7 separate regions of the Homo sapiens genome follow, and regions 1, 2, 3, 5, 6 and 7 are each linked to region 4. The links are contacts of gene promoters, found by promoter capture Hi-C in blood cells and fetal thymus (Javierre and others, 2016). All regions are on one chromosome and are shown on one strand. The core of a region is centred on a gene start or on the middle of the fragment in contact, and the rest is flanking DNA. Distances in the headings are between cores, read along the strand shown. Region 1 has its middle 54 kb from the start of LY86-AS1. Region 2 overlaps LY86 (lymphocyte antigen 86). Region 3 overlaps LOC101928004 (a long non-coding RNA gene). Region 4 holds the start of RREB1 (ras responsive element binding protein 1). Region 5 overlaps LOC101928004 (a long non-coding RNA gene). Region 6 overlaps LOC101928004 (a long non-coding RNA gene). Region 7 overlaps LY86 (lymphocyte antigen 86).

Evidence for each region. The method cuts DNA at HindIII sites, captures the fragments that hold promoters and counts their contacts. A CHiCAGO score of 5 or more calls a contact.
Region 1: a contact is called between a fragment that was not itself captured here and the fragment with the promoter of RREB1 in region 4, in 5 of 17 cell types (monocytes, erythroblasts, M2 macrophages and 2 more). The highest score is 6.9, in monocytes.
Region 2: a fragment that was not itself captured here is called in contact with the fragment with the promoter of RREB1 in region 4 in 1 of 17 cell types (activated CD4 T cells); the score reaches 5.6 in activated CD4 T cells.
Region 3: a fragment that was not itself captured here is called in contact with the fragment with the promoter of RREB1 in region 4 in 3 of 17 cell types (M2 macrophages, M0 macrophages and erythroblasts); the score reaches 9.6 in M2 macrophages.
Region 5: a fragment that was not itself captured here is called in contact with the fragment with the promoter of RREB1 in region 4 in 1 of 17 cell types (monocytes); the score reaches 5.4 in monocytes.
Region 6: a fragment that was not itself captured here is called in contact with the fragment with the promoter of RREB1 in region 4 in 3 of 17 cell types (fetal thymus, erythroblasts and monocytes); the score reaches 5.5 in fetal thymus.
Region 7: a contact is called between a fragment that was not itself captured here and the fragment with the promoter of RREB1 in region 4, in 1 of 17 cell types (naive CD4 T cells). The highest score is 6.3, in naive CD4 T cells.

The regions. Positions count from the first base shown.
Region 1 is chr6:6,675,815-6,678,756 of GRCh38, reverse strand. No RefSeq gene overlaps it. Among named protein-coding and RNA genes, the nearest start is that of LY86-AS1, 54 kb to the right of the region's middle. The HindIII fragment of the contact is 3,069 bases long and covers 1-2,942 here.
Region 2 is chr6:6,652,945-6,656,052 of GRCh38, reverse strand. LY86 (lymphocyte antigen 86) reads right to left here. Exons shown (of 5, transcript NM_004271.4): 5 at 1,071-1,509. The coding sequence ends at 1,426. Among named protein-coding and RNA genes, the nearest start is that of LY86-AS1, 32 kb to the right of the region's middle. RefSeq lists a silencer at 2,006-2,196. The HindIII fragment of the contact is 4,773 bases long and covers 1-3,108 here.
Region 3 is chr6:6,789,347-6,792,282 of GRCh38, reverse strand. The region is part of intron 2 of LOC101928004 (a long non-coding RNA gene); the gene reads left to right. Among named protein-coding and RNA genes, the nearest start is that of LINC03055, 95 kb to the left of the region's middle. The HindIII fragment of the contact is 7,184 bases long and covers 1-2,936 here.
Region 4 is chr6:7,106,688-7,109,886 of GRCh38, reverse strand. It overlaps RREB1 (ras responsive element binding protein 1), which reads right to left and starts at 1,926. Exons shown (of 13, transcript NM_001003699.4): 1 at 1,827-1,926. RefSeq lists silencers at 558-647, 668-1,157, 1,948-2,167, 2,228-2,707 and an enhancer at 3,058-3,117. The HindIII fragment of the contact is 7,744 bases long and covers 1-3,199 here.
Region 5 is chr6:6,769,284-6,772,425 of GRCh38, reverse strand. All of the region lies in intron 2 of LOC101928004 (a long non-coding RNA gene), which reads left to right. Among named protein-coding and RNA genes, the nearest start is that of LINC03055, 110 kb to the left of the region's middle. The HindIII fragment of the contact is 3,307 bases long and covers 1-3,003 here.
Region 6 is chr6:6,704,925-6,708,196 of GRCh38, reverse strand. The region is part of intron 4 of LOC101928004 (a long non-coding RNA gene); the gene reads left to right. Among named protein-coding and RNA genes, the nearest start is that of LY86-AS1, 84 kb to the right of the region's middle. The HindIII fragment of the contact is 2,232 bases long and covers 811-3,042 here.
Region 7 is chr6:6,608,320-6,611,277 of GRCh38, reverse strand. The region is part of intron 1 of LY86 (lymphocyte antigen 86); the gene reads right to left. The region is part of intron 1 of LY86-AS1 (LY86 antisense RNA 1); the gene reads left to right. Among named protein-coding and RNA genes, the nearest start is that of LY86-AS1, 13 kb to the left of the region's middle. The HindIII fragment of the contact is 1,073 bases long and covers 788-1,860 here.

The sequences.
Region 1 (2,942 bases), core at 195-2,694, 430 kb after region 4:
AGGGGCTAAACTCCGGGCGGAGGCTGGGGGGCCTCAAAAGCATTTTCATGCAGGTGAGAAAAGGAAAATTTCCAGGGCATCTTGGCTGAAGCACAGAAGTGACTCCCGGAAGACCTGGCATGTGTGAGATGTAGGAGGGATGCTCTGTGCCTGCTTGTGTGTGTGCATGAGTGCGTGTGTGTGTATGTGTGTATGCGTGTACATGTGGTGGGTATGATGAGCCTCGGGGCTCCCTTTAGCATCTGCTGGTGAGTTTACTGTGCCTGCCGACCGTTTCCCAGGTCAGGCCTCCGCCCATGATAACTACTGTTTACCAAACACTTACTGTAGGTCAGTGACTCACATATGTGATCTCATTTCACTCTCCCAACAACCCTGACGTAAGGACTATTATCCCTATTTAACACATGAGGAAAGGGAGGTTTGAGAGCTCTGGTTACTTTTTCACATTCTGAAGCTAGGTGCCTCCACAGCACATGAAATGTTCTGCCGTCGTTCGTCTCCCTGGGACCATATGGAAACGGGGGCTGCTTCCCCTGGAGATCACAAAGGGCTTCTGCAGTAGAGAAAGGAGACTAAGAGCACCTTTCTAGACTTTTCCTTAGCATTCTTCAAGATGTACTATCAGAAGTTCAATAAAAACAACCTAATGCTGAGATTCATGGATAGAAAATTGACTCAACTTCCTGCCTTCCGACGAGCTTATTTTCTTCTTAGCCATTGTAAATTGGTGGAGCCGTGTTCCTCCTTGTCTTAGAAACTTTTAATGGTGCTGTTGCCCTCAGGTTAAGGTCTGGACTCCTTGTGGCTCTCCAAATCCCTCAGAGTCCTTCATTGTCTGAGCAGGCACACTCATCTTCTGTAGTTTAAAAGGTGGCAGTGGCTGGGCGCAGTGGCTCACGCCTGTAATCCCAGCACTTTGGGAGGCCGAGGCAGGCAGATCACCTGAAGTTGGGAGTTTGAGACCAGCCTGACCAACATGGAGAAACCCCGTCTCTACTAAAAATACAAAATTAGCCAGGCGTGGTGGCACATGCCTGTAACCCCAGCTACCCGGGAGGCTGAGGCAGGAGAATCGCTTGAACCTGGGAGGCAGAAGTTGGGGTGAGCTGATATCGCTCCATTGCACTCCAGTCTGGGCAACAAGAGCAAAACTCACTCTCAAAAAAAAAAAAAAGAGTGACAGTAATGACATGATCATTAAACATCTTTCAGGGAAGACTCTATGAGACCGATGTTTGCATGCTAAAGACAGGTGTTGCTGCCGGAAAGTGATTCGGTTTGAGGACTCAGGACTTGGGAACATCAGTCTCATCTCAACAGAACCCTTTTTTCAGTTCCCTGCTGTTTCCTGCACAAACTGGGGGAATGTGCTTGGCCTCCCTGGAGCTCGGATTGTCTAGCAGCTTGGATTGCTTAGTCCCCCTTTCCACACCTTCCTGCCACCCTGAGGGGGAGGCCTGATGGTTCATGGGCTTCCGCAGAAGGAATTTGCCCACTCTGCTTCCTAAAATGTGCAGCTGCATTTTGCTGCTGGGAAAATATTGATTGAAGGTCTGGAGGAGTCTGACAACTTGTAAGGCACATACAGTTTTTATCTGCAGGATGAAGTTAGTTTTTGTTTGGGCCTGGTGTTTTCGAAAGAAGGAAATCACTTTCATAAGCATCAGATTAGATCCAGGAAGCGTCCGCAGGACAATGAGAAGCTGATAGAGGCAGTGTCTCAGGATTTTGCCATTGGTTACTACCGCCACCTCCTGGCTGAAATTGTGAACTACACAGCATGGGCTTCCTGGGCAAACTGGTTTAAGAAAAGGTAGCCCCGTTTTCCCCATTTTCTGCAAGTTCTGTGTGGCGCAAAAAGGAAATGAGAAGACTTATTGTTTAGATAGAGTATTTATTGGCATATTTTATATTAACTGTGATGATAAAGCAGACACAAGAATAAGAAATAAAATCAGAGTGAATTTTTCTCATCTGAGGCAACAGGGAAAATAATTCATTGGAACAACCCTGTGACTCAGTGTTAGCTTTGCCCAAAATAAGTGTCAAGGCCCTTATCTGAGTTTCCAAGACCCCCTGCCCATTCTCTTAAGCTGACCTCTTAGCATATTGAGGGAAATCTACCAAACATTTTGGAAAATTAGTACAAAATTAAGGAATTAAAATGAAAATTGCAATATAAAAAATTATTGGGTCTGAGGCATGTCTTCAGGTTGTACAAGGAAAAGATGTAAGATTTGGTATCTCTCCTCTTCATTATTTTATATTGGTTTTATACATAAGCCCTCACCCTGTAGAAATATAAGTTCTAAGTTAGGAAAAGGATTATTTGTAACATACATGCAATACACATACATTGACAGAAATAGAAACAGGCTTTTTCTGTTATTTAAATAGTATTTTTGGAGTAGATTGGTTTTTCGTTTGTTTGTTTTTGAGACAGAGTCTTGCCCTGTCGCCAGGCTGGAGTGCAGTGGCGCGATCTCTGCTCCTTGCAATATTTTCCTCCCGGGTTCAAGTGATTCTCCTGCCTCTGCCTCCCGAATAGCTGGGACTACAAGCGTGTGCCACCATACCCAGCTAATTTTTGTATTTTTACTAGAGACAGGGTTTCACCATGTTGGTCAGGATGGTCTCTATCTCCTGACCTCATGATCCGCCTGCCTCGGCCTCCCAAAGTGCTGGGATTACAGGAGTGAGCCACTGTGCCTGGCGGATTGTATTTTTAAAAATTTATTTAGAGATGGGGTCTTGCTCTGTCAAGCAGGTTGGATGGAGTGCAGTGGCGCGATCATAACTCACTGCAGCCTTGACTTCCTAAGTCAAGCAACCCTCCTCCCTCAGCCTTTCCAGAGGACAGCAGCTGGGGCCTTCAGACAATTACGTTTCCTTAGTCGGACATCTGAGAGGCATAATTTCATGGCTACCACAGAAACTGA
Region 2 (3,108 bases), core at 309-2,808, 450 kb after region 4:
CCACCTGTGTCTTTGGAAGGCTGTGACAGCTGTCTTGTACTGTTAGAACATGTGCGTACACAGAGTCTAGCCAGGGACTTTACTACTTGTGGTGATGGTTACTGAAAAGGGAGAGAGGTGAATGTCTCAAGCTAGAGGGAATGGCCAGGGGCAGGAATCATTTGCTATTCTTGTGCGTAACACCGTCACCCCCATGTACGTTCAGAGGTTTGCTCCTGAGCCTAGTATGACCACGCACGTCTTTTCCCTCGAGCATTATGGGCCTAGGCAAGGACGCTGCTGCAATTTTGCCTGCTCATAACCCAGAAAACCTCAGATGCTGGTTTTAAAGTTTGACAGGCATTTTTGACCTGCTATTCTAGGTGGTTTACTGATGTATAAACAGTGATTAATAGCAACTACTGTTTTTTAAACTATGGAATTTTTTTCTCTTTTAATCTCTAATATAGTGGCATTTTTATGAATGATAGTGTCAACTCACCCACCTTACTCCAGCCCCTTAGCAGGAGCAAGAGGGCCAGCAGGGACACTGGAAGGACAGGGGCGTCGGATGGTGAAGGGGCTATGCAGCCCACCATGCGATCAGTGCATCCCAGGAGAGAAGACGGGGCCGCAGAAATGGCTCTGGAAGTAGCATGGGCAACATGCTCATTTACGGAGAGCATCGTAGAAGACAACTTAAGAACACAGCACCTGATACACATTAAGTGTTCAGGAGTTATTCCTTGCATTCATTAATGAATGCAGTAATGAACGCCAGCATATGCTGAGGTCAAGTGTAATCATGCTTTGAGGGATGAAGGTGAAATGAATGTTTGGATAAGCGAGAGTATGATGTCCCTATTCGTGAGGTTGCATCAGCTTCTCGGCCCTCATGGTCCAAGGGTGGGGGCCTGCCCAGGAGAAGCAATGGCACATTTTCCCAGTGTTCTAATTTTAGCCAGGCTGTCACCCTCCTGAATTTCTTGGAACTGCTTATGCTGCACCAGCATCCGGCACTGTATCTGGAGGAAATGACTTTTTAACTACAGCATTGTAGTAAGATTCTTTGAACAAACCACAATGAACAATGGTGGCCAGCTTTCTTTATTCTTGGTAACTGTGAGGAAGCACTCCTAAAAAGTTGAAAAGCAGGTGAGTCTGGTGGGAGGCGACCAATTAGAGAAAAAGGATGGACCCTCAAGACTGCTTAAGGACTGCCAAGAGGCTCCTTAGAAACAGATACATTCGGGGACTTCATTACATCTGTGGAGTCTGGGGATGTCTGGTCCTGGGACTAAAATTAGCAGCTGCACTCTTTGGGGGCGCTTCTTTGTAGAGCCTCTCTCTGTCATCAGCTGCTTCTCCTCCCACAGTAGGTTCAGTCAGAGGAGCTTGGAGGTCCCACGAGATGCAGCTGGCTGTGATTTTTGCTACAGGCCACAGTCAGGAGCACATGATAGTAGCATTGGCACAGGCCACGGTGGACCGTTTTTCAGTGTACAGTTCCAGCAAAACCTGGTATTCTCCCTGCAAGGGGCACAGGTCAAGTATTAGACGTGTGACCCACAGTACAATTAACCATTTAACAAATATTTACAGAGAAACTTTTATGTGCTGGGTGCTGTTCTGGACATTGTGGATAACGTAGAACAAGACAAGCCAACCCCTGCCCTGTGGAGCTGACAGCATCTCTGGGAGAGACAGACCACCCTTATGATATGTGACTATGTATGGTGTGTCAGGTGCTCATGTCATGGAGAAAACTCATGCAGGAAGGGAGTGGATGGAAGCACTGGATGGGTCAAGGCAAGTGCTGGTCTGCAATTTTGAGCAGGGTGGTGAAAGGAGGCCCTGCTGAGACGACGACATTTAGGCAAAGACCTGAAGCAGATGCAAGAAGGTGCAGTGCTGCTATGGGCTGGGGCCCCCACCTTAGAGGGGCAGAAGGAGGCCAGTGGGGCTGCAGGGAGTGGGGGGATGGGGGGGGTGAGGTAAGGGCAACACAGGAGGCCAGACTCTTAGGGCCTCAAAGGCCATGGTGGGGACATCAGCTTCCACTCTGAAAGGGACTCTGGTCAGGAGAGGGTGGCCTGCCCTGGCGCCTGTGTCGGTAAGATCCCTCTGGCTGCCTCACTGAAAAGCCCAGATGGGAGGCGATTGCAGGAATCCAGGTGAGAGATGAAGATGACTTGGAGTAGAGGTGGAGGTGGGGGAAGGCTTTGGGTGCCAGAGAGATTTTGAAAGAACAGCCAATAGGATCCGCTGAGGAAACGCAAGTGGGTGGGAGAGAAAGAAATGGGTTAAAGGTGACTCCAAGGCTCCTGGCCTGAGCAACTGGAAGGAGAAAGGTTTGTATGCTCAGACAGAGAAGACCCCGGGGAGCACAGTTCACCAGCACAAAACCAAAATGCACCATCACAGAAAGAATGGCTGCCTTTGGGGATCCTTGCTGGCAGCAACACTGTAAGGAGGTCTCCCTTCCTTTGCAGTCAGCTTGGCAGAAGCCACCTGGCAGCCAGGTCCTATGAGGACTGTAGAAGAGCCATTCTGGTTTTGTTTGCTGCCAGCACCCCAGTCCTGCACCCCAGCAGCCACGGAGCGGTGATGTGTTTGTAGACACGAATCTGGAGAGGAAAATGCTCTGGGGTGGTTGGAGGGTCGCAAGCGGAGCAGAGGGACTGTGGCAGAGGAGGCCAGGAGACTGCTGGCACATCTTTGAACTGCCTGTCACCCAAAGGAGGAAAGAGTTTAATCTGTATAAAGCAAGAGGGAAGGAGTAGGTGAGACCACCGGAGAGAAGCTGCATGAAAGGTGGCTTTTGTTAGAAGGGAGCAACTTTCTAGCAATGAGCAGAGCTTCCAAAGAGAGTGGAGTCCCCAACACTGAAATTGTATTCAAGAGAACCAGGCTGTGCTCTGGATGGTGCCTTGGGTGTGATTCCATGATTCTAGACGCTCCCATGAGTCACACTCCTCAAATATTGAGCAGCTGTAATTTTAGAAATAGTGTTAGGAATATAACCAAAGCAGTCCAAATGTTAGAGAATTAATTATGAGTAAAGACCGGCTCAAATTTATATCTCGTTGTGTTTCATCGTTCTCTTCCTCCTCATGTACTTTTCTTTAA
Region 3 (2,936 bases), core at 396-2,895, 320 kb after region 4:
ACTGAGGCCCTGATGGTTTCTGAGCCCCCAGCACGTGCTCCGCAGATGGCTGTGGAATGTGTCTGAGGGAGAGAGCGTATACTTGATAAAGAGTTCAGATGGCATAAATTGTGGGATGCAAGAACAATTCTCATACCTAGGGTCACGCCACTACATTTTAGTAATTCTGGTATGAAAATTAGAAATGGGTGAGGTATATAGGGTTTGAGGAAGGAGGGGCTGGGAAGAGAGAGTTAATGGATAACATTCAAGTACACACCTGTAATCCCAGCACTTTAGGAGCCCCAGACAGGAGGATCCCTTGAGGCCAAGAGTTTGAGATCAGCCTGGACAACATAGTGAGACCCTGCCTCTACAGAAAATTAAAAACAAATTAGTGGGGTGTAGTAGTGTGCACATGTAGTCCCAGCTACTCAGGAAGCTGAAGCAGGAGGATTGCTTGAGCCGGGGAGGGTGAGGCTTCAGTGAGTGGTGATCACACCACTTCACTCCAGCCTGGGCAGCAGGGCGAGACCCTGTCTCAAAAAAAAAAAAAAAAAAAAAGGAGAAAAGATCATTGCCCAAAATGAAACTTCCTGAATAATCAATGGATTTCAATCATTTCTATCTATTTTTCAATGGTCTGATGACCTTGTGTTGAAGGACATGCAGGGTTTATTTCAAAAGGAGATTCCTGGGCCCTTGCCTCGATTTCCTGAATTAAAGTACTAGTGCTGAGGCCCAGAACCTGCCTGTTAAACAAGCTCCCTAGGTCATGCGTGTGCCCACCAATATGTGAGAACTTGTCTCCATTATCCTGAGAGGGCTGACTGTATTCTTTCACATGATTTCTTCTGGAAGCACTGAAGAGGGGTTCTTGTACCCGTCTGTTAGGAAGAAAATCAACCATTTCAAAGCACGCTGCAAATCTGAAGCCTTCCAGGCACCACTGGTGAGATAAAGGATAGAATCCAGGTGGTATCTCCTCTCCATATAACTAGGCCAAAGGTAGCAACTAGGAAGGTTTTTGCTCCCGCCCAGGAAGACTCACTTGCTGGGTCCCACTTCTGCAGTGCTTGCTGGCATCATGGCAGGGAAGAGACCTGCCCCTCTCTTTCCAGCCTCCCGAGGAAGCCTCTCCACAAACCCTCTTTCAGAATCATAAGAGCAAAGTGACTCACATCCGTAGGACTCACAGGGTGACATCAGGTTTATGGGCAGGGAAGGAAGGTAAGCTCCATTGCCTCCTATCATTGTGTGTGGCCTTCAGGCTGCAAATGTGCATGCCTGACTGCCTGAGCCCTTTCTTGGGATCAAAGTCATCTGGTTCCACCCACAGACATCATAGTTGCCCTTGCAAGAATGTCCTGAGCTGGGCATGGAGGTGCATGCATATAGTCCCAGCTACTCAGGGGGCTGAGGCAGGAGGATTGCTTGAGCCCAAGAATTCAAGTCCAGCCTGGGTAACATAGCGAGACCTCATCTCTAAAAATAATAATAATAAATAAATAAACAAAAAATAAGAATGCCCTCAGTTTAGGGTTGAGTTTTGACAAAAAGGCATCCACATCTCTCAGGCAATACAAGAGCAACGAAACTGACTTTGATGTCTCTGTTGATGGTGTACACATTGCATCATTAAAGATTGTTTGGGCTGCAACCAGCTGAAGATCCCATGACCCTTGACTTAGAGCACTAGGAATGGCCCAGGGTGAATTCTGTGGCTCTGTGATAACCCCAAGGGTGGAGGCTCTTTCTGTCTTACTACTCTACCATTTTTGGCGTGTCAGCAACATCCTGCTTTCTAGTCAAAGATGACCACCATGTTTCCTCGCACACCGTGGAAACCCAAGCAGGAGACGAGGGAGACTTGGCAAAGGGCTTCCTCCCCCTGAACCTCTCTCATCAGGGAGAGGGACCTTCCCTAGAGGCAGGCCTTGATCACATGATGACTCCACGGTCTATGACTGCAAAAGGGCACTCACTGCCATACACGAGGGTTCTGTTATTAATGAAAGGGGACTGGCCACTGGTAGGCCATAAAAATGTGTCCCGCATGGGGAATAGGTATTAATGAGTAAAGAATTCAAAGGACTTCATTTCCTCCCACCAGAGCATTGCACCCAGTGGAGAAGCATGTGTGGCCAGGGAGCTGCATGAAGGTGAAATCAGAACCTGTCCTTGGAGCACTCCTGGAAGTATGAGCAGGGGTGCAGTCAGGACGGCCTGACTCTCTGACCCTGTGACTGAGCCACAGGGGTCTCTTCTATGCTTCACTGTGCTTCTTCAATCTTGCCATCACTGTGTTGAAAAAGCATCCCTGGGCATTTGTGGTGAAGCCATTGGCAGAGCATCAACAGTCTTTCCAATGTACCAGTCCCACAGGGACCAGCCCCGGCTCCTTTACTTGGTTCATCATCCCACAAAAAAGGCTCCAGAGTGATGAGTGGAGGGAATGTGTATACAAGCTGGGAGATGCTTCAGGGATGGGGCATGACTCTGAGAAGCTCCACATGCAAAACAGGGTTATGATGGTCTAGGAGCCAGCTGCAGGGAGGTGGGCAGCCAGGAGGTGGGCTGGGGCTATCAGGGGAGTGACTGACTGCAAGGGCAGGCTCAAGGTGAAACTTTGAGAGGCAGATCCCAAGGCCCTTGGATCTGGCCTGTTACAGCAAATGGAGGAGTAAGGCAGAAAAGTCCTCTAGGGCTGTCTTCTACTCTCTCCTCCAACAGATTTTCACTGAGCATTTGCCATGAGCCAGACTCTGTTAGCTGTTGAGGTTTCAAGGGAAGGTAGAAAAGACAGAAGCAAACCAATGATAAAGATATCTATTGTCTTTTAGTGACTTTCATACACGCTCCCTCTCTTTTTTATTCTGTGCATCTCATTATCTAAGGGCTCGTTTTGTACCAAATGCTTTTATACATCATCTCATTCAAATCTCTCTGAGGTTGGA
Region 4 (3,199 bases), core at 677-3,176:
TTTTTTATTCACCCTTTTGTCTCTCTCCACATCCACCACCATCACAAGCAGCAGCAGCAGGAGCATCCTCAAACGAAGAAAACCCCTCCAAAGTGCCCCGAATGTGTGCTGCTGCTGGCTCTGAAGCCGTGTAGAATTTCGTAATGGAATGTGAACTGCTCGTCCGGATCTGGGCTCACGTTCTATCTCCTAACCAGTAAGGAGCGAGGGAGGGCAAATCTGCTGAGCAAGGAGAAATACTTTCCTCCTCTTTTATAACCCATCACGGATGCACGGCGGCCGAGGGGCGCGAGCTGCACGCGGCGCCTGTCAAGCGGCCCGGGCCCGCACCCCGTGGGGTCCCCGCGTCCCCCAGCTCCCCGCCCCGCCCGGAGAGAAAGGTGGCCTCGCCCATCGGTGGGCTCGGCCGACGCGCCCCGCACTCACGCGCGGCCGCGGAGCAGGTCACATCCTCGACGCGCCCTTGGCCCGGTCCAGAAAACACGCCGCTTCCCAGGGAGGGGGTCGGCGACGGGAAGGACCTCCCCTGCTCCTTAGCAACCATTAAGGTCGCAGTTTCCTAAGAGACCGCGAGCGGGGAGGGGGCGCGGGGGGCCCGGCCCAAGGCTTGTGCGGGAAGTTGGGGGCGGGGGGGGCAGCAACAGGCCCCCTCCCCCCACCCAGCTAGACGCCGGGGGCCGGGATGGGAGGAGGAAGGGAAGCCCCAGAACTCGTGAAAAACTGGTCCAGCGGGCGGCGGACAAAAGTTTCCGAGCGCGCTCCACAGCTGGGCGGCGGAGCGGGCCCCGGCGGCCGGCCCCGCCTCGGATGCTCCCGGCCTCCTTCCTGTGCTCGTGACGGCGCCGAGCCCCCCACCCCCCCCGCCCGCGAGGCAGGCTAGCTCCACACCGAGGGCTCCCACGAAAACACTCACCCCGCCAACGGAAGGGCGAGGGAACAATACGTGCCCGCACGGCTAGGGCCCGGTCCCCTCCTCCCCAGGCCCCCCGGGGCGGTGGTCGGCGTGACCACGACCGCCAGCCGGGAACCCGCGAGGGCGCGGGGCTGCCCGCGGCCCCCTCCCGGCCGGCGCCGTCCGCCCGGGAGGTTCAAAGTCCGCAGAGCAGGGCGCGGCGGATGCTCCCACCGAGCAGCCCCGAGCAGGCACCCCCGCGCGAGCACCCCGGGCAGGCACCCCCGGATACCTTAGGGCGGCGGCGGGAGGGCGGGCGCCGTCATCTCCGCGCTTCCCGGCCCGAGAAGGACTCGAAAGTATGTAGGAGAAAAGTTTCCCCTCCCACATGGGGGGGAGGATGTCGAGGGAGAGAGGGCGGAAGATGGAGAGCAGCGCTGGGAAGATGTTTCTGGCCGGCGGTGCGCGCACCATCCGAGTCCCGGCGGTGCTGGTTAAAAATAAACTCGGCGGCGCGGGTCGGGCCGGATTCCTGCGCTCGGACGGCTAATATGGATGCGCATCAGGTCCTGCTGGCGGGGCGCTGCGGCGGCTCGCGCTGGGAGCTGGTTGGCAGAGCCGGCGGCTCGGGAAAGGGAAAAGAGCGGAGGAAGGGGAGGAGGAGGAGGAGGAGGAGGAATGGCCCGGCGCGCAGCCCGAGGGGAGAGGGCTGCCCCGCTCATCCCTGGCCGCCCCGCCGGCCCGAGCGCACGCTGCGCGGAGTGGGGCGTGCGGGTCCCCGGCTCCGGGACACACCGAGTTTCAAAAGTACAACGCGCTCTGCAGACTTCACCCTCCCCATCCCCAAAGTTCTTTAAAAGGTCGCTCCGGCTGTGCCCCAGACTTCTCGCTGCCGCCGGCGTACCGCGAGTCGGAATCCGGGGCACGTACTTACGGCCGGGCAGGACGCTTGGCTCCCTGGCATGATGCGTTGGGGACCGGTGGGCTTCAGGGAGAGACCGAGGAGAGATGCAAACTTGTTCCGGAAAAGGAATCAAAATGGCGTTTCTGGATGTGCAAAGTTCATCAACTCCGCAGTCACTTCCCCTCCTCCTCTTCTCCCACAGGGAGGGAGGTGGGCGAGGAGCTGGCGACCCCGGCGCCCCAGCCGTCGTCCCGGCCCCCGTCTCGGCCCCCCGCCCAGCTTCCTCGCCCGCACGCTCGGAGTCTCGCTCTCCCCCTCTCACCCTGATAAGTAGACACATCACGTGTTGCTCCTGCGAGTCTCCTGGGGACGTGTTACTGAGCGGCCGCGGCGGCGGCGGCGGCGGCGGCGGCGGCGCTCGGACTGGGGGGGGTGAGGGGGAGGACCGCCGCCCCCGCCCCGACTTTAGCAGGGTGACCGCAGTTGCCATCCCGGGATGGATGGAGGTGGAGTCCCCTCCCCACCCCCCACCGCAGCCCCAGGTTTGCCCTACGCCCTCCCAAGGCGCCCCGGGCCATGGGAGGGCCGGGCTGCCCGAGGGGAAGGGTCCGGGAGGCCGCGACTGGCTGCGATCCCAATCGTCCCGTTGCTCGCGGGCCACCTTATTCGGCCACCGCGCCCCCTCCCCTGCAGCCCCTCGCCGCGGGCGACTCCCCGCCCCCGGCTTTCCATCACTTCACTCCGCAGTTTCACTATTTTAACGGAGGCGGGGGAGACACGGTGATGCCTCGGAATTGCGAGAGGGGCACCTCAGAGGCGCTGGAGTTGGGGGGATGGGGGGCGTAGGGCTCGGGGCCCTGGCCTGACGCCGCCCCTCTGGGTCTCCGAGGCATCTGCGAGGGGGAGCCCCGCCCGCGCCGTTTCCTTTCCACGCGGTCCTCGCTCTGCATCCAGGTGGGGCGAGTGGATGATGGGGCAGGAGATTAAGGAGCAGGCGCTTCACCCCGCCCCTAGCTTCGAGCCGTTTCTCTCCCGGGGCCATCCTTCTTACTCGGGCTGCCGCCCTGAGTGTGCTCGCCGTCTAACAAACTCAACTCCGACCCGACTTTGGTCCCCCTCCCTTACCCACACCCCACAAAGGATGCTTCAGCGGGGAACTGCCGTGGCCGCCAGGGGCTGAGGACGGTTCCTGCCGCCACTGTGTCCCCACCCCGCGATGGAATGGCTGATGCTGTGTCATCCACGTCGCCCTCCAAGGCTTCAGAGAAGCCACACGCAGTATCTCTTTCTCTCAGAGGGCTCCTGTTTCAACTCTGAAAAGCAGGGGCCCTTCTCCGAGCCGCTCTCCATCTCTCCAGCTCCTGCCACCACGCTTCGCACTGGCTGCCTTGCCCCAAGTTATC
Region 5 (3,142 bases), core at 101-2,600, 340 kb after region 4:
GATAAGAGGCCTGGACCCAGTGCCAAGAAATTGGCAATGATTTCTAGGAACTAGAGGTCTGATATTCTATTTCGAGTTTCTCCCTGTACTCATGCATTGGCCATCATGCATAATGCCACATCATCTTGGGGAATCTGGTGGGAAGAGAGGTGCTTTGTTTGCACCAGGTTATTATGAAGAGAGGGCAGAGGCCTAAGGCTCTCCAGCACCAAGCTGGAGTCAGGTGTTGTAGCAAGAGGCAACGCAAAAAACTGCCTGGACCAGACCCTCCCTGGATGGTTAATATTGGGACTGCTGGTCTCTGTGCCGTCCTGTGAGATTATAGCGTGCATATATTTAATTGACTATTAAAGGAAGAGGAGCGCCATATGGCTGTAAAACCTGGGGAGATTTAGGTTACAAAAGAAGCATGCTCATTTAGAAATCTTACACATTCAGAGGTATTATCCATCTCTAGCAATAGCAGAGTGAAATAAACATATTTAAGTAATGGCAACAGCAACAAGGAAGACTTTTAAGCACACTTTCAAATTTTGCATTGAGAAACGTGGTGAGACCTTTCAACTTTCTGTTTCAAAATCCAAATGTATTCTGATGAAAGCTCTTTATTCATGAAAATTTTTGTGCATGTGACTAGGATTTTACTCTACACATCTCAGACAAAACTCCTTTCATTCCACCTGCCATTGGGCAATGCTCTCCAAGGGGAGGAGGAAGCTCCTTCCAGAGTCCTGCCAGACATCAGCACAGGCCCTGGGGCAAGAACTGGTCACCTCTGCCTGTGCTGGGTGGAGAGCAGAGGAGTTGGATGAGGAGGGACATCAAATTTAAGGAACAAAATCAATTGACCCTGTTTTGGTGCTAACTTTTCCTTGGCTGGTATTCTATGTCCAGAGAAGCAAATGGGGTGGTCCTGTACCTTTCCCAAATGGTCTCTCCTCCTCCTCCTCCTCTTTCTCTTCCTCCTCCTTCTTCTTCTTCCTTTTCCTCCTCCTCCTCTTCCTCTTCTTCCTCCTCCTCTTCCTCCCTCCCTTCCTCCTTCTCCTTCTTCTTCCTCCTCCTCTTCCTCCCTCCCTTCCTCCTTCTCCTTCTTCTTCCTCCTCCTCTTCCTCCCTCCCTTCCTCCTTCTCCTTCTTCTTCCTCCTCCTCTTCCTCCTCCTCCCCTTCTTCTCCTTCTCCTTCTTCTTCTTCTTTTTTGAGATGGAGACTCACTCTGTCACCCAGGCTGGAGTGCAATGACACGATGTCAGCTCACTGCAAACTCCGTCACCTGGGTTCAAGCGATTCTCCTGCCTCAGCCTCCTGAGTAGCTGGGATCACAGGCATGTGCCACCATGCCCAGCTAATTTTTGTATTTTTAGTAGAGACGGGGTTTCACCATGTTGGCTAGGCTGGTCTGAAACCCCTGACCTCAGGTGACCCCCCAACCTCAGCCTCCCAAAGTGCTAGGATTACAGGCGTGAGCCACCGCGCCCTGCCCAAATGGTCTTTTCTTATCTGAGTTCCATTCTTTAAAAGTAAACTTAAAAAAAAAAAAAGCCTCTTATCATGAAGACGTATGTGGGCAGGTAGAAAGGATTTTACAGGATACTTTTTGTAATGCTTCCATACAATATAAAATTTAACATCTTAACCATTTTCCAGCATATAGTTCAGCAGCGTTAAGTACATTCATGCTGTTGTGCAACGAGCACCACCATCCGTCTCCAGAGCTTTTTCATCTTCCCAAACTGAAGCTCTGTACCCATCAAACAATAACTCTCAGTTGCCCCTTCCCTCAACCCCTGGCAACACCCATCCTACCTTCTGTTTCTGAATTTGGCTCCTCTAGGAACCTTATATGAGTGGAATCATACAGTATTTGTCGTTTTGTGACAAATACTTATTGGCTTATTGCACTGAGTGTAATTTCTTCAAGGTTCATCCATGTTCTAGTATGTGTTAGAATTCTCTTCCTGTTTAAGGCTGAGTAATATTCCATCGTGTGGATAGATCACATTTTGCTCATCCATTCACCTGTTGAGAAAAACTTGGTTTGCTTCCACTTTGGACTATTGTGAATAATGCAGCTATGAACAAGTGTGGACAAATCCCTGGAACAGTTTTTGTAATTTGCTTTTACTTCCCCAGGGCAACTTAGGACTTGACAGATTTTGAATATGAACTTACTTTCCTTCCTTGAGACTAGATAGATTTAAGATTAAGTGTTTTTAAAGGGGGCCTTTTCTTTGACTAAGTATCATAGAAAGTAATTTGGTGTCTGGTGCATGGTGCATTGCTTCTCTGAATGAATAATTCAGACATTTCAAAACACTAGTGGATTTGAAAATCAAATTCACACAGAGAGGGTGAGTTGTGAGAAAAGGATAGCATAGGCACCATGATTCAGGTTTGGGGTTCTACAGACTGACACCAAGAAATCAAATGAGAATAAATTACAATTCAGCTGTGAGTGTGCAACACACACACACACACACACATGGAAGCAGCTAGTTTAAAAGTCAGGAAAGCCCACAATTCTAGCTGCATTTTGTAGACTACCTTGAGGTTTGAGCTTTTACCTTATGGTAAGACAGGTGGAAGGAGTTGGGAATAAGGATCTGGAGAGTTGAACCTACTTGTGCTCTCCCACCTTGTTGCCTGATAGTGTACCTTAGATAGTTAATGGCAAGGCTTCCAATGGGCCAGATGAGGTTGCAGAGAATTTTCCATTTCACACTACAGACTGTCCTGTTGACCCAGCCAACAGTATCACAGATTAATGTCACTGGCCAATTGAGAGGACACTCAGCAGGCATGAGTGCTTAGGGCCTCTGGAGCCCAAGAGCCAAGAGCAGGACCCTCACCTCCTGGATGCCATGGCAGCTATCCTTTCCAGTGGCCTCTCGCAGGCTACATGGCCTCTCATTTTTGCTTTTCCTTACACATCTGCTCTTGTTTTTTCTCTCAACTGACTTCCTTTGTTTACTCACTTTGAATATAGCTCAATAATGCCACCAAGCTTGATTTTCCAATGCTACCTTTATTGACTATCGAGTTCATTGCATCTGCCAGTGGTGTCTGCATACCTCGGTTTGAAACTTTGAGCATCTCATTGACAAGCTTTGGAACTCATTGCCCAATCCAAGTCATCTAATACCCT
Region 6 (3,272 bases), core at 677-3,176, 400 kb after region 4:
TTACGGAAGCCCCCACCTATCTCCCCAGGACCCCTTTCAGGCTATTCTGGGCACTGGCTGTTGAGGAATGCCCTGGATTCAGTTTTCCAATTTATTTGTCTATAAAGCCCTAATGTGAACAATTTTTTGCTTGCTGAGTATTTTCAATGACAACCAAATAATCGAGTTTCCCGTAGATCAGTGACTCTTAACCGGGGCATCTTGCCCCTCAGGGGACAATTGGCAATGTCCAAAGAAGACATTTTTGATTGTCACAAGTGGAGGGGAGGAGATGCTACCAGTGCCTCGTGGGTGGAGGCCAGCGATGCTGCTACACATCTTGCAGTGCATAGGATGGTCCCCACATCAAAGAATGATCCCACCAAAAATGTCAGCAGTGTCAAGGCATAGAAACGCTGATCAAGACAATGACCCTTTCCAGTCTTATTTAATAAATAAAAAGAACTCAACCAGTTTTCTTTGGTGATGGAGGATGGTTCTTACAGCAGTGTCCTTCCTTTAAATTGTATGAGCTGTAGTGTAGAAATAGAAATGAAACAGTTATCTTTTTGTCTAGTTTTTGGACAAAAAATTGGTCCAGAACACACCATGAAGGATGATTCTGGGAAATCAGATATTGCAGATGAAAGAGAACTTGGCTGGGGACAAGCTCTGGGTTCTAGCTCTGGTTCTAATGCCAACTTGCTGGGTGTCTGGGACTGTCACTCTCATCTAGGGGTGGAACTAAAGCACCTTCAGACCTCTGCTGCCTCTAACAGTTTCTTCTAGAACAAGTCCATGCATGAGTCAGTTGAGAGAGTTGCTAAAGCTTAACAGAATATAAAGGAATAAGGAAGAAGAAACCACTCCACCTCTGCCCTTCCACTTTCGTCGGCAGGGTACGTCCACCCATAGCATGGGCTCCCTGTGTGACCCACTTCCCTGCTTCCGCATGGGCTTGAGGGAGGAGGAGGCCTGGCATGCCGGAAGGCTGGCCAGGGGTGAGGTCCGTGCTTGGGGACTGGTGATGTGAGAATGGGCTAAGCAGTGAAGAACTCTGTGGCATCTGTTTTTAAAATGGAGTCCAGGGGTGAGCAGTGGCTTATGAATGTTCTCAAGAAAGAAATGATGACTAGCCTTGGACATTTTGATGTTGCTCTTTGAAAAGATCCATATTCTCTTTTGGGATGAATTATAGTTCACTTGTGATATTTCTTTTAAATATATTTTTTAATCTTTAAAATTATTTTTATTTTTATTATTTTTTAGAGATGATTCCTTGCTCTGTTGCCCAGATGGGAGTGCAGTGGGCACCATTATAGCTCACTGCAGTCTCGAACTCCTGGGCTCAAGTGTTCCTCCCACCACAATTTCCCAAATAGCTCGGACTACGAGTGTGACTTACAATATTTCTTATTACACAGGAAGCTGAATTTTTTTCTTTAACTTGCAAGAAGTCTGTGGCATTTTTTAAATTTATTTTTGTCTTCACAAACAAGTAGAGTAAGTGATTTAAAAAGGTATACACGTGAAATCTTTTTCATAGGTTATCCATATTACATGGTAAGCAAGTTAAACATATAAAAGGCTGTACAGAGAAAAAAGGAGTCCTCCTCCCAGCTCGGGGGTAGTTGATCTTTGTTTTCTTATCACTATGGTCTTGGAGGGCAGAAGTTGGAGAGTTGAAGCCATAGTGAAGCATCACCAAACTAAGAAGGCTCAGGTCTTGGGACAGCTCCATGCACAGGCTGAATGGGACGGCTGCCAGGAAGATAATATTCTGTTCTGGATGTACATTTCCAGGGCCAGTAAGTGACTGCACACACCTGAGGCAGTTGACCTTCTGCTCTGTCGATGAAAGAAGAGGGGACAAAAATCAAGGGACAGGAACAAGGCAAGAAATTGAGGCTTTTGGAGTTATAGGCTGGAATTGTGCTGAATTTTCTTCTGAAATAGTTCACTAAGGTGTATTAGCCAACCACTTATGTCTTTCCTTCTATGTCATTTTCTTTTTTTTTTTTTTTTTTTTTTTTTTGTTATGGAGTTTTGCTCTTGTCCAGACTGGAGTGCAGTGGCGCAATCTTGGCTCACTGTGACCTCCGCCTCCTGAGTTCAAGTGATTCTCCTGCCTCAGCTCCTGAGTAGCTGGGATTACAGGCGTGCACCACCACGCCCGGCTAACTTTTGTATTTTTTGGGAGAGACGGGGTTTCACCGCGTTGGCCAGGCTGGTCTCGAACTCCTGACGTTAGGTGATCTGCCCACCTTAGCCTCCCAAAGTGCTGGGATTATAAGCATGAGCCACCATACCCAACCTATGTCATCATTTTCAGTGGAAGTAGTTGTCTAATACGAGGAAGTAACACGTGTTCAAAAGAATAGAGTAGGGTTGCTTGATCTTCTGTGTTTTCTTAGAGCTCTATTTTCTTTGTGTTCAGAGCAAGTTCTGATTTGGACAAAAAGCATGGCCTCTTAGGGCTGTCAGTGCTGCCACTTACTTGGTTGTGGGCTTAATGTGCTGGCTTTGAGTCTGTCTCACTGACTCCCATGCTTCGTGGGTCCCTGGAATTCTGTGCTTATGGGGATCCCCAACATGACCTGCACATAGGACAGCAGGAAAGGAGGACATATATACTGCGTACATCTCCTCTGCTCACATGCATCTCCACTGTCCCCATAGGATTTCACTCGTAAAACACAAGTTCACAGATAAGACTAAGGATGTTAAGACGGTGATGGTAGAGCACTAAGCCAAGTGTGGGTCCTTCTAAGCACAAGGCCTTGTGCAGCATGACAGGTTGGTCACCATGAAGTGGTCTCTGCCGATGTGGTTATGAAACCAGGAGGGCTGAGGGATCTTGAAACATGGGATGAGCTGCCTAAGGCCAAAACCAATGTTCTGAGGATGGTAGAGCCCAGAGCTTGAAGGAATTTATGTTCCTGACAACAACACTGAACCACTGGTTTTAATCTCCTTGGAACTTGCTTGGACTTCTTATCTGAGATTAGAATATCCTTGTTTTTAAAGGTGGTTTGAGCTGAGTGTCACTTGCAGGTGAAAGCTTTGTGACGTACACCAGAGGACATCTTGTCCCTAATGAGTGAATGCCATAATACTTTACCTTTATTTTCCTTACTAGGCTCCATCTCCGTAGCCTGCTTTTGACAAAAGTGGATACATAAATCTAGGGGCCACCTAGCTAGTTCTAATAAGACTTTGGAAGTCAAAAGCTAAAGAAGACCAGGGGACCAAGCTGGAAATCAGGCTCTGCAATCAGATTCCAGAGGGAATGC
Region 7 (2,958 bases), core at 75-2,574, 500 kb after region 4:
CTCAGGCACAGAGAATAATATATACAAAAAAACTCAAGTCCCAAAGACTGTGTATTCTGGGAACTTCACGTTTGTCAACAAAAGCTCTTCATAAAATCAAGTCAGTTGTGCTTTTGTGACCTTCATTTTGAATCATATAAATGCAAACAGTCCAGCTTGTTTCTTTGAAAGGCTGGAGGTCGGAGGTGGCTGGTGTTTGCTCAGACACGGCCAGATCTTAACGGTCCTAGAATCACCCCTGGAAGGACAGTGGAAAAACAAGATAATTTTCTTTTCCTCTATTGCTTAAAGTGGTATCAGAAAGGTAGACTTCTGTCTTCTTCCTATATATTTTCAAAGAAGGAGCCTTCCTTGGCAAAATACAAATTTCTGTGGCTGCTGGGGTCAGAAAGAGTTTCCACCGTCATCACAGGCCTTCATCTTGCAGGTAAGCTCAGACATGCTCACCTTCTTACTGACTTTGCTGAACATCGCTCATGTTGTGGAATAGAATTTCTACACCATTTGTGCTCATAGTGTGACATCAAAACCAGTATGTCCTTTGCAGCCCTTAAATACACACATGAGAATGCACACACACACCCCACAAAACAAAACCCCAGCCCTCCCTCGCTTTGGCCTTCTAGCTTGACCATTTTAGGGCAGACTGTCTTGGTATGTTCCTAGGGACAGAAGCTTCCATGTAACTCAGGCAGTAAATCAGGGCATCAGCTAGCACTCACCTTGCCCCCCCCTAAGCTTCCGTTTCTTCACTTGTAAAAGGAGGAACTGAGCACTATTTTAAGCTTCATGCTTCCTTCCTGTACCAGGCTTCTCAGATGCCCCAGAGGCCAGGGCAGTGGAGCCCAGACTCTGGGGGCTCAGGGCCTGCACTGTGGGTCATAAAGGCAGAGGGAGATGCGTAGCCTCAGGCTCAAGAGCTTCAGGCCATTTTTTTAAAATAAAATCTTTTTATCTTGAAATAATGATAGACATAGGAAGCTACACAAAGAGTACAGAGGTGCCCTGTGTACTTTCACCCACTTCCCTTCATGGTAACATCTTACAGAACCACGTATCAAAACCTAGTCATTGACACTGGTGTACTCTACAGACTGTACTCAGGTTTTAGCGGTTTTCACACGCACGCACGTGTTCGCTCTTGTAGTTCTATGCAGGGTTACTGCGTATAAGCACCACCATACAGATCCTGGCTGGGCGTGGTGGCTCATGTGTGTAATTCCAACACTTTGGGAGGCCTGGGCAGGAGGATCGCTGGAGCCCAGGAGTTCACGACCAGCCTGAGCAACATAGACCCTGTTTCTACAAAAATAGAGGCCAGCACCCTTCCTTGCCAGTGCAAACGTTTCTTGCAATGTTCAGGGCCCTGTAGCCAATCTTGGCCATACACAGAGGCCTACAGAACAAGCACGAATTCTTTTTTTTTTTTTAAATTTTAATGGACACACAATAATTATCCATGTTTATGGGTTTGCTTCCTAAATGCTTTCTAGTATGAGAGCAACTTAGCTTATTTTTCTCCCTGGCCTTCCTACATGTGCTAATGAATTGTCCGTGGCTGCCTCCAATCCCCCAGCAGACCAACAGGAGGAAAAAAATCAATTTGCACTTTTCCTAGGAAGCAATCCTGTTGGCAGAGCTGACTCATAAACAGCCTCCTTTTCTGTGTTAGCATGTTGCTGAGAGGCCAGCGTGACAGTGCTTCTGAATGTGGCCACCTGGATTTAAGGTGGAGTAGTGCCTCAACTGAGAGGCCCTTGAAGGAAGAGAAAGTGTGTAAGGAAGTGCATAGAGAATAAGAGATCCAGTATCTCCAGGGTGTGGAATCCCAGGCTTCCTTCCTAAAGATACCGTGAAGCTTTCCCAAGAAAGCAGAGTGGATACCCAGTGGGAGTTCCCACCCGTATGTCTTGAACTGGAACCAGGGAAGTCAAATTCTTCATTCCCAAAGCCAATTCGCCATTTCTTTCTGCATCTCTTATGTCAATGAGATGAAGCCAGGGTGGGTCTGCTGGATGCTCCAACTCTGCAATAGAGCTCTCCTGGACAGGAAGGAGGGAGGTGTTTCTATGGGAAATCTGAACTTGCTTGTACTTTCTCTTCATTTCACATAGACCATCCGGGAATAGGATCCCGGGGCCATGAACAATAAAAGATTACAAGCTCTTACAGGTGGATGCTGGAGGGGAAAAGCAGAGCTGCGGTTGGCTTGGTCTCTCTGCCAGCAAAATACATTCCTAACCAAGGAAAGGACTCATTTCTCTGCCTCCAGAATCAACACACCCTAGCATTCCCTTCCTGATTAGGGGAATAAAAAATACTTTTGCTAAAGATATAAAAAGAATTATATTGAAAGATAGCAAGCTGCCATGAAAAATAAGACAGGAAATTGGATTTCGGATGAATAAAGGAGAAGAGTTCACCCGTTGAACAATCACAGCCGTCCTTCCCCCGCAGACCTGCACACAAGTTAAACACCACGTGTGAGTTTCTTCTGCTTCACAGCAAAGTTTAAAGAAGGCCTGGCTCAACGCTATGCCCTTCTCTGTAACACCATTGCTGTAACCGTTTGGATATTGTTCAGCCTTTTTTTGCCATCTGTTCATGTGTCTTCAGAACATTTAAAAACTGTTAGTGTGCATGGAAACATTACTGGACAAAACTGATACAACTAGAGCAATTAGTCTAAATACTTTTGCCCAGGCTTAAGCTGCTGAAAACTGGAGAAAGAAAAAAAGGACTGGGCCGGTAAACATTTTCTGACACAGGAGACATAAATAACGGATATTCACAACAGTTTGTAATTGCAAAAAAGTGGAAACAACCTAAATTTTTATCAAAAGGAGGAGGGACACAATTGTAGTCGATACGTATAATGATGTACTCTACCTCCATGAAAATGAATTAAGTAACGCGATGCATGCTAGCTATCTCTTGAAATAATGTAATAAATTAGTC